Linked DNA regions of Homo sapiens: all the other regions are linked to region 1. The links are contacts of gene promoters, found by promoter capture Hi-C in blood cells and fetal thymus (Javierre and others, 2016). All regions are on one chromosome and are shown on one strand. The core of a region is centred on a gene start or on the middle of the fragment in contact, and the rest is flanking DNA. Distances in the headings are between cores, read along the strand shown. Region 1 holds the start of HEY2 (hes related family bHLH transcription factor with YRPW motif 2). Region 2 holds the start of RNF217 (ring finger protein 217). Region 3 overlaps LOC124901394 (a long non-coding RNA gene). Region 4 has its middle 14 kb from the start of TPD52L1. Region 5 overlaps TPD52L1 (TPD52 like 1).

Region 1 (2,866 bases), core at 131-2,630:
GGGCTTGTGTGGACAGAGAACGGAGTGTCAAAGGGACGCCCTGGGCCGATCCCCAGGAAGCTATGAATCCCTCCGTGACGGAGGGGTCTGGGGATCGATAGACGGCCCTTTCTCAGAGGCTCTCTCCACTACTGACCAAGCGGCCCTGCCAACGTGTGGTTTCCGGCTGGACCCCAACCCAGCCGCCGCCAGTCTCCCGGCGCCCCTGGCTGGGTCTCGCTCAGTCCCTGCCCTCGCAGACGCACAGCGGGGTGGCCAGTTCAAAAGTCCTACATAACTTGGAGAGAACCAGCAGCTAGAAAACCTGTTTTAAACACACAGCTTGAGTTTTATACAACCCACGTTGTCCAAGGCACGAACTGTTGGACACGAATTCATACTTTAGAAACCAAATCTAATTTCCAAGCGCCAATCTTCACCTCCCGGACTCTAACTCTGCGGCTGCGAGTGCATACACCAGGGGGACTGGAGGAGACTGGAGGCAATTATCTGGATAATCCAAGCCCGAAAAACTCGAACTTGAAAATATACGATTATGTCCTGAAATGCCCGCGTCATTGATCTAGTCTTTCCTACCATCAGAGCTGACACAGCTCCAGTCCACGGGCTTCTCCGCGGGGTCTAGGATCCACAGTCCCTGGGGGCTGAAGACCCAATGGAAGTAACTGATGGATCGCAAATTGGAAATCGTAACGTGGCCGACAGACCTGATCAGGAAAACTCGCGTCCTTATATGAAACAGCCCCGAGGCCGCGAAAGTAGCCTCAGGAGTTGTCAGATTCAAAAGCAATTTTGATTTAAGGTTTTCAAAAGCCCCAGAGGGCAAATGTGACCACTCGGGTCAGCCAGTCAGCAGTTTGGATCCAGACAGGGGACCACCGAGTGGGGCGGCCGAGGAGCCGCGGCGCCTCCCGACGTCACACGCGCCTGCTCGCACTTAGCCACGCGCTTGGGGTTATTCTTTACACTCAGGACTGAAACTTCGCCCGCGAGACCGCGGGGCGCGGAGGAGGGCCGAAACCCAAGGTCCAGGTCCAGGGCCCGCCCCCGCGCGCCCGCGTTGGCGCCCGCGCGCTCCCTCCGCAGGGGTTAGCAAGATTGCGCTCATTCTCGCCCCGGCTGCTCCCCACCCGCTCGCTGCTCTGGGGTACCAGGTCCGCGGCCGCGTTCCCACGCCTCGGCTGGAGCCTTGCGGCGGGCATTGGCGAGCGCGGCCCCGCCCCCTGGCCCAGCCAATCGCGAGCCACGCCGACCAGCGAGGGGGAGGTGCCGGGCGGAAGGCCTGGGCCGGTGCGCGGGGGCGGGTGAGGTGGCCCCACCCGCTCGAGGGGGGGGCGTGGCCGGCGCCGGCTCTTGCGGCCGAGCAGAGTTGCGGCGTGGGAAAGAGCCGCTAGGAGCAGACCGCGCCGCCGCCGGAGCCGCGCCTGCCCAGGCCCGGGGAGGGAGGAGGCGGGCGTCAGGGTGCTGCGCCCCGCTCGGCGTCCGAGCTTCCGGCCGGGCTGTGCCCCGCGCGGTCTTCGCCGGGATGAAGCGCCCCTGCGAGGAGACGACCTCCGAGAGCGACATGGACGAGACCATCGACGTGGGGAGCGAGAACAATTACTCGGGGTGAGCGCGGGCTCCGCGGGAGCGGCCCGCAGCTCGGGAGCTTGGGGTAGCTTTGTGAATGCGTGGCTCCCTGGAAATCCCGAGGCTGGTCTCCGCAGCATCTAGGTAGAGAGGGAAAGTTTGGCCTGAGAAAGTTTGAGTGGTGGGCGCTCGCAGAGCGTGAGTTGGGATGGGGCAAGGGATGTGGATTTTCACCGTAGGGGTGGAGTAGCCAGGATGGGAGACGCCACTGAAAGGCAGAGCGCAGGAGTTGGCGAGGGAGGGTCCTGGCTGTCACAGTTGGACGCGCGAACGGCAGCGTCTGGGCGACAGGCGATGTCCCAGCCACTGAAACCGTATTTGGGGGCACTTTCAAAATAGATCAGGAGAAAATAAAAACAATTTGATTTTTGATTTTTAGAGATACCAAAATCACAACTTGATTTTTGGAGGAATTAAAGCAACCTGCGATGTCAAGGCTACGTAGGTTGAACTTTGCAGGTTGACCGTGTGTGACTTGGCTAACGCAAGAGTGAGTGACAGATGTAAGCATCGGAAAGGGCATCATTTCTTTGACTGCTTGTTCTCAAGTCTGGAAGAGATCGGCGTCGTAATCACAGAAGCCAGACCTCCACTTTCCTGTGACAGAGGGAGATTACCGAGGCATTTTAGAGCCAAGGCGGGTCAAATGATAATTGCTTCTAATTGGCATCCCCAGAAGCACCTTAATTATTTATCTGCAGCTGTCACTCAAAGAGGGAAATTCTTCCTACCTTTGGAAAACTGGTTTTCTTTCATATTGTTATTCTAATACATACAAAGCAAAGCACAAAATCTGCAAGAGCAAAGATATTTACACGAAAGCAAAGGTTTAAGTATCTGATCATTAAAGTGTTGTTGTGCCGTCTTTAAAAATGAGGTCTGAAAAACAGAAGCTATCACGTGAAAGGTGAAACCCGTAAAGAAGGGGTGAAAATGAGGGGGACAGGTAATTCAGAAATAAGATCCAGAAGTGAGAAGGTGAGGTAATAGCAACCTGGTGTGTGCAGCATTTCTAAAATGAAAGAGAACAAATAACAGGAACCTGGGGAATTTGAGAACACAAAGAAGCATAGTATCCATGAATTATGAAGAGAAACAGATACAAACTAGAAAGGATTGTAAAAATTATGTGACCAAATAATACTTTGATTGAACCTTCAATATAAAAATATATTTTCATTAGTAAATCCAAGGTGCATTGCAGCTTCTGGAGATTTAAGCTTAGCCTAAAGTCTGA
Region 2 (2,866 bases), core at 94-2,593, 790 kb before region 1:
GCATCTGATTTGGAAAATATTTTAGAACAACCCAATAACAACTTCGAGATTAAAAAATAAAATTCTACACACTTTACAGTTCCTTGCTATTACATGAATGTGTAAATTGAATTCCCTCTCAGGAGAAAAAAAACAAAACAAGGGCTGGCTTCCCAAAAATGTTTTCACTGGCTTTAGGGAACTAAAACACCAGTGTCTGGGTGAGTAATACTTCCTGTAAAATAAAGATAGATCAACACATAATTAAGTCCTGGCTCACATATAATTGTTGTTTTGGAAACAGTTTTGAGGATAAATATGGTTATGCTAATGAAACTGCCCATGATTTCCACTAATGATCCAGTTTATTAATTAGGTCAGGACATTTTTCCACCTTGTGCTATCCATTTTGGAATGCTGAAAAGGGTTAAAAAAAAAAACTTCTAAGAGAACACTGTAGGCGAAGAAAAAGAGAGAAATTTTAAATTAGTTATCAACTCTTCTAAGGATTCCAGTTGGAGGAGTAGATCGAAAGTGCTTTTTCGATTATTTATGGGTTTCGAAGATTCTTCCTACTCCACTAGGCAGAAAAACAGAGTTGTAATATACAGCATTTAGAATTCATAATCCTTAGCATTATTTCTCTGAACTCGACATCCTAAATAGCCAGCGTTTACTAATTCCAGAGCTGAGTGTAGTTTTGTAGGAAGTTCTACTGAATGCGGAGACCAAAGGGGAGCCTGCCTGCTCTGAGGGTTTTGTTGAGGCTGAGTGTGAACTCCGGGCGAGAAAGCGCATCTCAGCTCTTAGATCACACCCACTCAGGGTGTGCGTGTGTGTGTGCGCGGGTGCCTGCGCGCGTGTGTACGTGTGGGGAGGTGTGCGCCAAAGGGGTGGGGTGAGGGGCGGCGAGGAGGGCTGTAGGTGAAGCGCGGGGAGAGGGAGGTCGCCCGCTCCGGCCTCTCCCCCAGGGGCCCTGCGGCTGGCCAGCGCTCCGGCTGCACCTCCTGGTGCGCGCCGCGGCGGCGCCACAGGCCCCTCGACCCTTTGACCACCGCCCTCGGGCCGCGCGTCCGGCAGCCGGGACCGGTGATGGCGCGGGACTGACGGCCGTCTCCTCCCAGACCCCTCTGTCCCGCCTGGGGCTCGCTGGGGCTGCGGCGCCGCCCCGAGCTGCATGTGGGGCGGGCGCGCCCGAGCCCAGAGCGAGCGGCCCTCGGCGCCCCCGAGGCGGTGCCCCGCCGCGCCAGAGTACGAGGAGGAGCGGCGGGCCGGGCCAGGCTCCCCACGCGCCGCAGCCTCGGAGCACGGGCTCCCCGGAGGGGACTTGGGGCGTCCCAGCCCAGGAGGAAGGACCCGGAAGCAGAAGCGGAGCCGCGAGTCGAGCCGAGCCACTGCCCCCGCTGCCCGCGGGCGCCGGGTGGGGGTCCCGGCGGCTGGATGGGCAGCGGCGGCGCGGGCCGCGGGCGGCGATGGGCGAGGAGCAGAGCACGGTGAGCGGCGGCGGCGGGCCCCAGGAGTCGCAGACCCTGGCCAGTGGCACTGCGGGCCACCCTGAGCCCCCGAGGCCTCAGGGGGACAGCGCCCGGGCGCCCCCGCTGCGCGCCGCCTCCGCGGAGCCGAGCGGCGGTGGCTGCGGAAGCGACTGGGGCTGCGCGGACACCAGCGCCCCAGAGCCCGCGAGGAGCCTGGGGCCCCCGGGCTGGAGTAAGAGCCGAGCACCGGCGCAGCCTGCGGGACTGGCACTCACCGGGCCTCTCAATCCCCAGACCTTGCCACTGCAGTTGGAGCTGGAGGAGGAAGAGGAGGAAGCTGGGGATCGAAAAGAGGGAGGGGATGAACAGCAGGAGGCGCCCCCCGGCGAAGAGCTGGAGCCCAGGACCCGCGTGGGGGCCGCCGACGGACTGGTCCTGGACGTGCTGGGTCAGCGGCGCCCGTCCCTCGCCAAGAGACAAGTCTTCTGCTCCGTGTACTGCGTGGAGAGCGACCTGCCCGAGGCCCCCGCCTCGGAGCAGCTCTCGCCGCCCGCGTCGCCACCTGGGGCTCCGCCAGTGTTGAACCCTCCCAGCACCCGCTCTTCCTTCCCCAGCCCCCGACTGTCCCTCCCAACGGATTCCCTCTCCCCCGACGGCGGCAGCATCGAGCTGGAGTTCTACCTGGCGCCCGAGCCGTTCTCCATGCCCAGCCTGTTGGGAGCTCCACCCTACTCTGGCCTGGGCGGTGTAGGGGATCCCTATGTGCCCCTCATGGTGCTGATGTGCCGGGTGTGCCTGGAAGACAAGCCCATCAAGCCCCTGCCTTGCTGCAAGAAGGCCGTGTGCGAGGAGTGCCTCAAAGTCTACCTGAGCGCCCAGGTAACTTCACCCCCTTCTCTTCCCCATTTATCATTCCAAATCACTGGCGAGGAGGTCCTGCTCTCGATCTGATCTCCCTGCTCGCGCGAAGAGGTGACCGACACACTTACTGAGGATCTCTGTTAGTTTCTCACGTCTCAGTTGTTATTTAAGTGTATTATGACCTCACTGGTTTACTTAACTGGAATTTAACTTTGCTGTGAACTTCAGGCTATGGTTGGCATGTGTAGAAGGCACAAGATACAAGTTGTTGCCCTCCTCTTATTTCTTATACAGGATTGCAAGCACAAGCTTGCTCAAAGGAGGAGAGGAAGAGACTGCCTCATCGGCCTGGTATCCCAGAAACTAACAAGCAGTGGGCATAGAATAAATATTTATGGAGCTGGTGGAGAAAAGAATTGGAATAAATATTTCAGACCCATAATACATGAATTTGTAATTTTGCTTCATTTGTATATTCCAGGAAAGAGTGAATGTTTAAAAAAATGTATCCCTTGGCCTTTGCCTACTTTTCAGTTTCCTTTTTCCACAGT
Region 3 (2,866 bases), core at 264-2,763, 630 kb before region 1:
TCAGTGGGGCTGGCCTTATTAACCAGCCTTCCTCCACCTCTGCCATTCTTGTTTCTGTCTCATACTTTTTTCCAACTCCTTAGAAAGCCTTTCCTTCTCCCCATCAACCATCTCACTGCACAGATTTGATGGCATGACGTCTTGCTCGAAGTCTACTTACTTGTTCTTGAATACTGCTTGATATTGTTATTAAACATACTGATTCTTAAATTTTTGAAATCCCAATCATCATCCTTAACATTTGTAAATTTTTTACAATTATAACCATCATATTATAAATGATGAAAGATATCTCAAAAGTTTTTTTTTAACATTCCTCGAACACTCTTTGGAACCATCTTTCTTGCTTTCAATAAATTCTATTCTCTAGACACTCCAAATGAACCTTCACTTTGAAATGACACACTATTTTTATTTTTCTCAATCCAACTTACCAAATTCAAGTCCTTAATTCTTTTTTTGAGGTATTAGCATATGGGGGTGTGAAAAGGAGGGTAGAAAATGAGAAATTACTTAATGAGTAAATATATGTTATTCAGGTGATGGATGCTATACAAACCTTTGAGTTGACCACTACACAATCTATGCATGTACAAAATTGCATTTGTATCCCATAAATTTATACAAAACATGCATTAACGTATGACAATGAATTAATATATCACCAATTTGTAAGAACATATTTGGTTTTTAACAACTGTCTTCAAGGTACCCAGAATAGTGACTCACAGGAAGATTTCAAGCATCATCTTAAGTCAGGAGTTATTCTTGGCAAAGAGCTGTATTGACACCTCATTAACACGCCAAGGCGATGTGTGTCTGCTTTGTTCCTCTTTCAGTGCATCCTAGTTCCATAGGGTAAGATTTGAAGATAACAACTATTACTTCTTCAATGTCTAGAGAATAAGAAAGGAAAAACTAGGAATGAGAAAATATTATATTAGTATAGTAAATTTGAATTTTATAAATGAACATTTTAAATTCTTTAATTCTGACAATATGATAGACTAGACAGCCTGATACCATTCCACTAAATACAAATGTATATATACTTAAATTGTTGAAAATGTTAAATATACTTTTCATAAAAAGAGATAACTAAAAAATAGTAAAGTAAATATGAGGACCGAGAGAACTGTCAGCGGGTATCTGGAGAAAGAAGGATCCTTGGAGGCATACAGAGTTTCCTATTTCCATGAAGAGAGAAATAAGGGGGGCGGCGAAGTCTTGGAATTACAAAGGGTGAAAAGCCAAATGGGAGAATATCCTTAATAAAGTTTCAACTCAAAAAGAACTATAACCTCAGATAAAGGAATTGTTAAATCAAGTTTAGCATAAAGCTTCCTTCCTACATATTTTAAGTCAGGCCTAAAGGTGTTTCTATACATCTTGAACTATAACAAGTGAAGGTATAAACAGACCATAGCCTACACCTGTGCCAATCACCGAGTTCTGGCCAGTCAAATGTAGCCAACTGTTCGAACCTGTTCAAATAAAGCAAACACTGAGCTATAACCAATCCAGCTGTTTCTTTACCTCTCTTCAATTTTCTACATGTCACTTTCCTTTTTCTGTCCATAAATCTACCATGTGGCTGCTCTGGAGTCTCAGAGACTACTCTGGCTGTGAAGGCTGCCCAATTCATGAATCATTCATTAAATTAGTTAACAATTGTAACAATTTGGCTGAAGCTTTTCTTTTTCTTTCTTTTTTTTTTTTTTTTTTTTTTTGAGACAGAGTCTAGCTCTGTTGCCCAAGCTGGAGTGCAGTGGCGTGATATCAGCTCACTGCAACCTCCGCCTCCCGGGTTCATGCCATTCTCCTGCCTCAGCCTCCTGAGTAGCTGGGACTACAGGTGCCCGCCACCAGGCCCGGCTAATTTTTTGTATTTTTAGTAGAGGCGGGGTTTTGCAGTGTTAACCAGGATGGTCTCGATCTCCTGACCTTGTGATCAGCCCACCTTGGCCTCCCAAAGTGCTGGGATTACAGGCTTGAGCCACCGCGCCTGGCCCAGCTTTTCTTTTATTAGATAGCAATGAGGATGGGATCCGAAGTAGAGCTTCCAACGACCCTCAGGAGCGCTGAGCGACCAAGTGAAGTACCTACAGGACCCATTTGTGTTCACTGATCTATTGGAGCAGCTGGGGATTGTGGTAAGTTCTCTCTGGCATTTCAGAGCTCCACGGATTTGTGTTTTGAGCTCACTGAGTTTCTTTGAGCAAATTTGTGATCCAAACTGGTTTTGGAAGTCATGACAGAAACTGGACTGGGTCCAGGATCACATTTGACCCAGTAATTAACTGACTTGGATCCAGTTAGAGGCCTCGCACATCTGACTGGGTCAGAAAGAAACTGGTGGTAAATAGTAATATTGCAGGGGGTGTAAAAATTTGGCTTTTGAAAATTCAAAGGGATTTTTGTGTTCTACCTTTTTTTTTTTTCCACTTTTCTTGTGTGCTTAGGTAGGAGGAAAAAAATCATTAATTAAGTCAATCAAGGGAACCTAGAAACAAAACCAATATTTTAGGTAAAAAATGGGATCCTTAATTTTTGGAAAACTGAGTTCCCTCCAGCTTATACATGCGTAAGTGTTAGGCCCCAGAAGTAGTGAAGTCTTAGAGTAATAGTGAAATCTTACTAAAGATAACTTACAGTGGAATGTTCCAAATGAATAAAACTGCACTAAAGTGCGTTTGAAAATGAGGGCTCCCAAATTAGTCTCCTGTAGGCATGGCTATTGATATGCAGAAGCTTCTAAAAAGATTTCAGTATTTTTATTTAAAGACTTTACAAAAGGCAAATAAAAAACTTAAGCGACTAATTGATTTTAAAAAATTAAATTTGCTTTGCACTTTTTGCTGACAGC
Region 4 (2,866 bases), core at 224-2,723, 610 kb before region 1:
TTAGAACGTTTGCAATGATAGTAATAATTTTTCATAATGTCTTTCCTAAGACTGTTCTTGTTGGGTTTTGGCATCAAGGCTATAGCTATACAAGGTCTTTTAGAGTCTAGAGCATTTAGCGCATTTTCTATTGATGAAGTTTAGGACATACCATCCCAAAATATAACTCTAGGATATAAGAATAGGCCATCCCCAAATATGCCACTTTGGCATACTGATTACTTTGAGCTAAAAATAACTGAGAGCCAGCCAAAGCAAGAAAAACTCTTTCTCTCCTTCAACTTCCTAAAATAAAACATAAAAATTCCCTTGTGTGCAGGAATTTACACCCATAAGGAAATTTTCATTAGTAAAGATACGTGACAATTGTATCACCTGAGAGACTTTTACTTGATTAACAAGGCAACCTCTATTCACAATACATTTCCTCCGCTTGCCCTCCCATAATTTTCCTCTACCATTACCTAGAATCCCTAAACTCCTATTCCTTTCTGTAGGTCAGGATGATATGTAAGTTTAAATTATCTGGTGAGTCTTACATTTTTATTGAACTCCTCTATGGACATAATTAAAATTGTTTTTCTCCTGTTGATCTTTCTTATGTCAGTTTAATCCATAGACCAGCCAAAGAACCTGGAAGGGTAGCTGGAAATATTTTTTTGTCCTCTACATCTTTTTATTAAATTATTTTTTAATTTGCTAATTTTGGTCATTTTTGATGGACAGAATTTTTAATTTTTGAAGCCACACATGTTAACCTTTCCCTTTATGATTTCTATCACTTTTGAACTCTGAAAGTACCACTCACACCTTAAAACTTAATATTCAATTATATTCTATTCTAGTTTTTCTACATTTTAAAAATATTCAATATTTTAATTTCTATGGAATTAATTTGGACGTATGGAGTGAAATGAATGTATAAATTGATTTTTTTTCAAAGTTCCATATCAGAACCTTAAATGAATGATGAAAATTATTGGATTCTTTTTCTCATTTTTAAATAAAATTTATAAATTTTTTGTTTAGTCTTATTAAAAGTAACTCACAGATTTTCACTAGAGAACGTGATTGTTTTATGCTTAAACAATTGTTTAAAATTTTGAAATTAATAAATTAATGTAGCAATTCTGTAAACATGAGCAACAAAATAAAACTTAGAGTTCTTTTTACATAGATTGTGTGATTGATTGGAATTAGTGAATGTAAAATGTAGATAATTCCTGAATTAATTAGTAATGTAGGGGAGGCACAGGTGTGACACCTTTCCTCACCCATCATAAGGGTCACAGCCAACATTCCTATAACAAAAGACAAATTAACAAGGCAAAAAATTACAACAAATTTATGTAATCAAAGTTTATCGTGACACGGGGTACTTCAGAAACAAAGACCCAGGTAAAACAGTCCATTTTAATGCTTATATTCATTGAAGAGTAGACAGCTATGCAGAAATGTGATTGGACAAAAGGGAATGATCTTACGGTAATAGGCTGAGGAGGGAAACCCAGCAAGGCATCGCTGCTCAGATTCTTCTCTGTCTTTCTGTGTGGCGTTCCTTCCTCCTGGGTATGAAGCAGGGCCCCTCTGGAATGAGAGTCTTATTATCTACTATAAGACAAGGTAGATTAGACATTTTCCTTATGGCCAACTGGTATACTGAAAGGTAGGTTAAGGTTAGAATAATGTTTCTAGGTTTTATGGCTGCCTTTGGGATAGTTTCTATGACCCACTGATGTGGGTCTAGTTTCTATGACCCACTGATGTGGTTCTAGTTTCTATGACCCACTGATGTGGTTTGGCTTCATCCCCACCCAAATCTCATCTTGAATTTTAATCCCTATAATCCCCAAGTGTCATGGGAGGGACCTGGTGGGAGGTAATTGAATCATGGGAGCAGTTTCCCCCATGCTGTTCTCATGATAGTGAGTTCTCACATAATCTGATGGTTTTACTTTTTTATTTTTTATTTTTTGAGATGGAGTTTCGCTCTTGTTGCCCAAACTGGAGTGCAATGGTGCTATCTCGGCTCACTCCTGCCTCAACCTCCTGAGTAGCTGGGATTACAGGCAAGTGCCACCATGCCCAGATAATTTTTTGTATTTTTAGTAGAAACAGGGTTTCACCATGTTACCCAGGCTGGTCACAAACTCCTGACCTCAGGTGATCTGCCCACCTTGTCTTCCCAAAGTGCTGGGATTACAGGTGTGAGCCACCACGCCCAGCCCTGATGGTTTTATAATGTATGGCATTTCCCCTGCTGGCACTCATTCTCTCTCCTGCTGCACTGAGAAGAGGTGCCTTCCGCCATGATTGTAAGTCTCCTGAGGCCTCCCCAGCCATGTGGAACTGTGAGTCAATCAAACCTCTTTTCTTATAATTTACCCAGTCTCAGGTATCTCTTGATAGCAGTGTGAGAACAGACGAATACACTCACCATGGGGAAGAGAAATTCTGGTTTCTATAACTTGCTTTGGGTGAGAAAAAGGAGAGGGAGACAGGAGGGTAGGAGAAGGTCAGAGGGAGACTGCATCTGAGGCTGCTTCTGAGCCCTTCCAGTACTTCCTTCTTTGGTTCAAAGTACTCAGCATGCCAAAGTGCCACTCTTTGGGGTATTGTTCTCTGAGCCCCAACAGTATTATATGGGATGTATTTGACATCTAATTTTTCTGATATAAATTTGCTTCATAAACTGATTGTAGAAATATTCCCTGAAAAATTGAGTTCCATGCTTCAGCTATTACTCATGAGAAGGAACTTACCACCAAGAAACAACAACTCCTAAGAGATAGCTCATGAAAATGTTTTTCTCTGCACAATTTGGTAAGTGCATTTTCTTTGCTGGCTTTTATTCAAAAATTTAATA
Region 5 (2,866 bases), core at 175-2,674, 580 kb before region 1:
GGAGATCTTTAAGAGTAAGCCTTGCGACATGTCAAGTTGCGGGTGGAGGATGCTCATTTATCAACAGCTTGCTATTTTTGTTCTGTTTTCAAGATGAAGAATTCTATAAAAATCACATGACATGTGATTCTTAAACCAATACAGAATTTTATCACCAGCTCAAACAAAAGTCTGTTCAGATATGTTATTCCACTTGGTGTTCATCCATATTCAGTCATCTCAGGACTTTAAAATAAATAAAAGTCACAGGCTCTGCATGCTTCTTTCCAGAAAGTAGAATCTGTATTCTTTAGATGCTGGCTGAAAGGGCTAATTTCAATGAGTACCCCAAAAAAGAAAGCATTTTATTGCCTCATGAACATTATAATTACTTGTTTACACGAATATGTTTTATTCATTTAACCATCTCCCAACCATACTAGCAGAATAACTACTTTAAGAAAATACCTAGTAAAACTGTTGAAAAAAATGAGCCATCAATGGATTTGTCCTTAAGCGACTCTAGCCATCTCTGTGTTGAATTTTCACGGTTTGAAGCAGCAACTGCAGAAAAGAGGGCATCTGCCTCAGTCATTGATCAGCTGGCATGCTCTCCATGCAGGCAGAGGTTCACCATTACTTCTGTTGCGAAATGTCCCCAACAACACCGTAAAGCCAGTCACTTCTTCAATTTACTGAGTTAAGCTGATCATGGTGGTGAGTGCTTATAGTCCCAGCTAATCAAGGTGCTGAGGCAGTGGGACCACTTGAGCTCCAGAGTTCAAACCCAGGCTAAGCAAAACCCCTGTCTCTTAAAAAAAAGATATATATATATATTTTAACTGTATATATATAGTTTTGTATACATATATAAAACTAAAAGAAAAAAGTAAAACAAGAAAAAATTTACTGAGTTACTACACAGTTAAGAACACATAAAAGGTGACCTCAAAATGTGGATATTCACATCTGTCATCCTACTTTTCATTGAATATTTAAGCAATAAAGTGTAATGATTTGAAATATATGCATTAAATTGAGAAGCATTGTTAATGTACCAGGGAAGGCAGGAGAATATTTTAATGAATTTGAAATGGCTAAAAGGAAGCTTTGGGTCCTCAAGGAAAGATGAATTTTAAGCAATTTCTCACAGTGTGAATCGTTTATAAGTGATGCATTTTGATGCAGAGGAAGTGAAGTTCCCAGAATAAAACCACAAATCTCCAAGAATACCCTTAGTCACCAACATATTGCTTCTTTCTCAAAAGGCAAAAATCTAGCACTTTGCTGTAGCCAGATCATGTACCACACATGAAAAATGCATGTATATGTTACACCTCATCTCCAAACTTACCTATGGTTATTTGTATCTTATACAAATTACAGTTTCCCTGACATATATCTAAAATATGGAAAACTCTTCAACTCCTTGGAAATACATTTTTCTTATAATTAGACATTTCTTTTGTCCATTAATAGCAAGAGCGTCTTGTCAAGGATCATGGAAGCAGAACTGATTCAAGATTAAAAAGATCCGTAAAAGTCACATGAGATGTAATTCTTAGAACCAGTATAGAGTTTTATCACCAGCTGCTAGGAAAAGTCAGTTCAAATATGGAATGGTTCAAATATGTTATTCTACTTGGTGTTCGTCCATACCCAGTAATCTCAGTATTTTAAAATAAATAAGTCATAGGATCTGCGTGCTTGTTTCCAGAAAGTAGGATTTGTATCCTTTAGATGTTGGCTGAAAGGACTAATTTCAATGAGTACCCAAAAAAAGAAAGCTTTTTATTGCCTCATGAGTATTATAATTACTTGTTTACATGGATATGTTTTATTCATTTAACCATCTCCCAAGCATATTCACGGAAGCAGAACTGATTCATTCAAAAGAAAAAGCCAATTTGGGATGGGGGTAGTGGGAGGAGATCTCTTCAGATCTCTCAGTTTTAAAGTCTCTGATGGTTGGATATTTGTAGTTTTTCACTGATTTTTCTCTCTGCATAAAGAGCTAATAGCTCATTGTCTATAAATATTTTCCAACATTTTGTTTTCCAAAATGGACTCATTTCTACATAAAGACGTCATGGAAAGATGGTTTTTCTTCCTGAAGGGTTAGGTCAGCCCTGGGAAGAAGTATAGACCTTGGCTCCTGTTATTCCTCTTTAGATATCCCAGGGTTCCAACAGGAAGTTACAAGATACCTGCACTACCTGTAAAGTTTATTTAAAATGATTGGAAGGCTCTCATAAGCATTGGAGGGGAAGAAAAACTTTTTTTCTACCCTCTTAGGTGAAGTGCCTAGGAGCCTGTGAATTAAACTTACAGCAGACAGACTAGCAGGAGAAAAAGCTTACAAAGTTATTTATTTTAAATTTTGCTTGCACAAGGGTGTCATAGAAAGAAATGAATACCCCAAGGAGTGATGAGATTTGATTTTCTGTATCATTTTACTACAGGAAAGGGAGGTGGAGAAAAGGCAATATTGAGAGAGCAAATGACTTCTTTAAAAAAAAAAAAAAAAGATAAATGGGTCCTTAGGAGAATAGATGGGAGATATGACAGTTTGTGACAATGTCTAGAAGAGAAGAAAGAGTTGCTCCCAGTGGGAGGAATTTGTGACAGCTGAGTTCTTTTGGGAACCTCTGCTTTTAGTCAGATAAAGGATTTCGGGAACTCAAATGCCTTCAGCTCAAAATAACTCTTATGGGCTGGGTAGGGTGGCTCATGCCTGTAATTCCAGCACTTTTGGAGGCCGAGGCAGGAGGACTGCTTGAACCCAGGAGCTCAAGACCAGCCCAGGCAACATAGCAAGACCTCGTCTCTACTAAAAATAATAATTTTTAAAAATTAGCCAGGCGTGGTAGTGCATGCCTGTAGTCCC

What was found. Contacts are between HindIII fragments. The CHiCAGO score rates a contact against its expected background, and 5 or more counts as called.
Region 2: the fragment with the promoter of RNF217 here is called in contact with the fragment with the promoter of HEY2 in region 1 in 3 of 17 cell types (M2 macrophages, M1 macrophages and M0 macrophages); the score reaches 10.2 in M2 macrophages.
Region 3: a fragment that was not itself captured here is called in contact with the fragment with the promoter of HEY2 in region 1 in 1 of 17 cell types (M0 macrophages); the score reaches 5.4 in M0 macrophages.
Region 4: a contact is called between a fragment that was not itself captured here and the fragment with the promoter of HEY2 in region 1, in 1 of 17 cell types (M2 macrophages). The highest score is 6.1, in M2 macrophages.
Region 5: a fragment that was not itself captured here is called in contact with the fragment with the promoter of HEY2 in region 1 in 4 of 17 cell types (M2 macrophages, fetal thymus, M0 macrophages and 1 more); the score reaches 7.9 in M2 macrophages.

What each region holds. Positions count from the first base shown.
Region 1 is chr6:125,748,252-125,751,117 of GRCh38, forward strand. HEY2 (hes related family bHLH transcription factor with YRPW motif 2) reads left to right here and starts at 1,381. Exons shown (of 5, transcript NM_012259.3): 1 at 1,381-1,608. The coding sequence starts at 1,526. It overlaps HEY2-AS1 (HEY2 antisense RNA 1), which reads right to left and starts at 1,174. Exons shown (of 5, transcript NR_183491.1): 1 at 708-1,174. RefSeq lists a silencer at 890-1,599. The HindIII fragment of the contact is 5,509 bases long and covers 1-2,847 here.
Region 2 is chr6:124,961,094-124,963,959 of GRCh38, forward strand. RNF217 (ring finger protein 217) reads left to right here and starts at 1,344. Exons shown (of 6, transcript NM_001286398.3): 1 at 1,344-2,333. The coding sequence starts at 1,452. RNF217-AS1 (RNF217 antisense RNA 1) reads right to left here and starts at 1,934. Exons shown (of 7, transcript NR_026876.1): 1 at 1,730-1,934. The HindIII fragment of the contact is 3,639 bases long and covers 1-2,622 here.
Region 3 is chr6:125,117,236-125,120,101 of GRCh38, forward strand. It overlaps LOC124901394 (a long non-coding RNA gene), which reads right to left. Exons shown (of 2, transcript XR_007059735.1): 2 at 392-896. Among named protein-coding and RNA genes, the nearest start is that of TPD52L1, 35 kb to the right of the region's middle. The HindIII fragment of the contact is 351 bases long and covers 1,339-1,689 here.
Region 4 is chr6:125,138,240-125,141,105 of GRCh38, forward strand. No RefSeq gene overlaps it. Among named protein-coding and RNA genes, the nearest start is that of TPD52L1, 14 kb to the right of the region's middle. The HindIII fragment of the contact is 4,047 bases long and covers 1-2,866 here.
Region 5 is chr6:125,164,284-125,167,149 of GRCh38, forward strand. All of the region lies in intron 1 of TPD52L1 (TPD52 like 1), which reads left to right. Among named protein-coding and RNA genes, the nearest start is that of TPD52L1, 12 kb to the left of the region's middle. The HindIII fragment of the contact is 679 bases long and covers 1,086-1,764 here.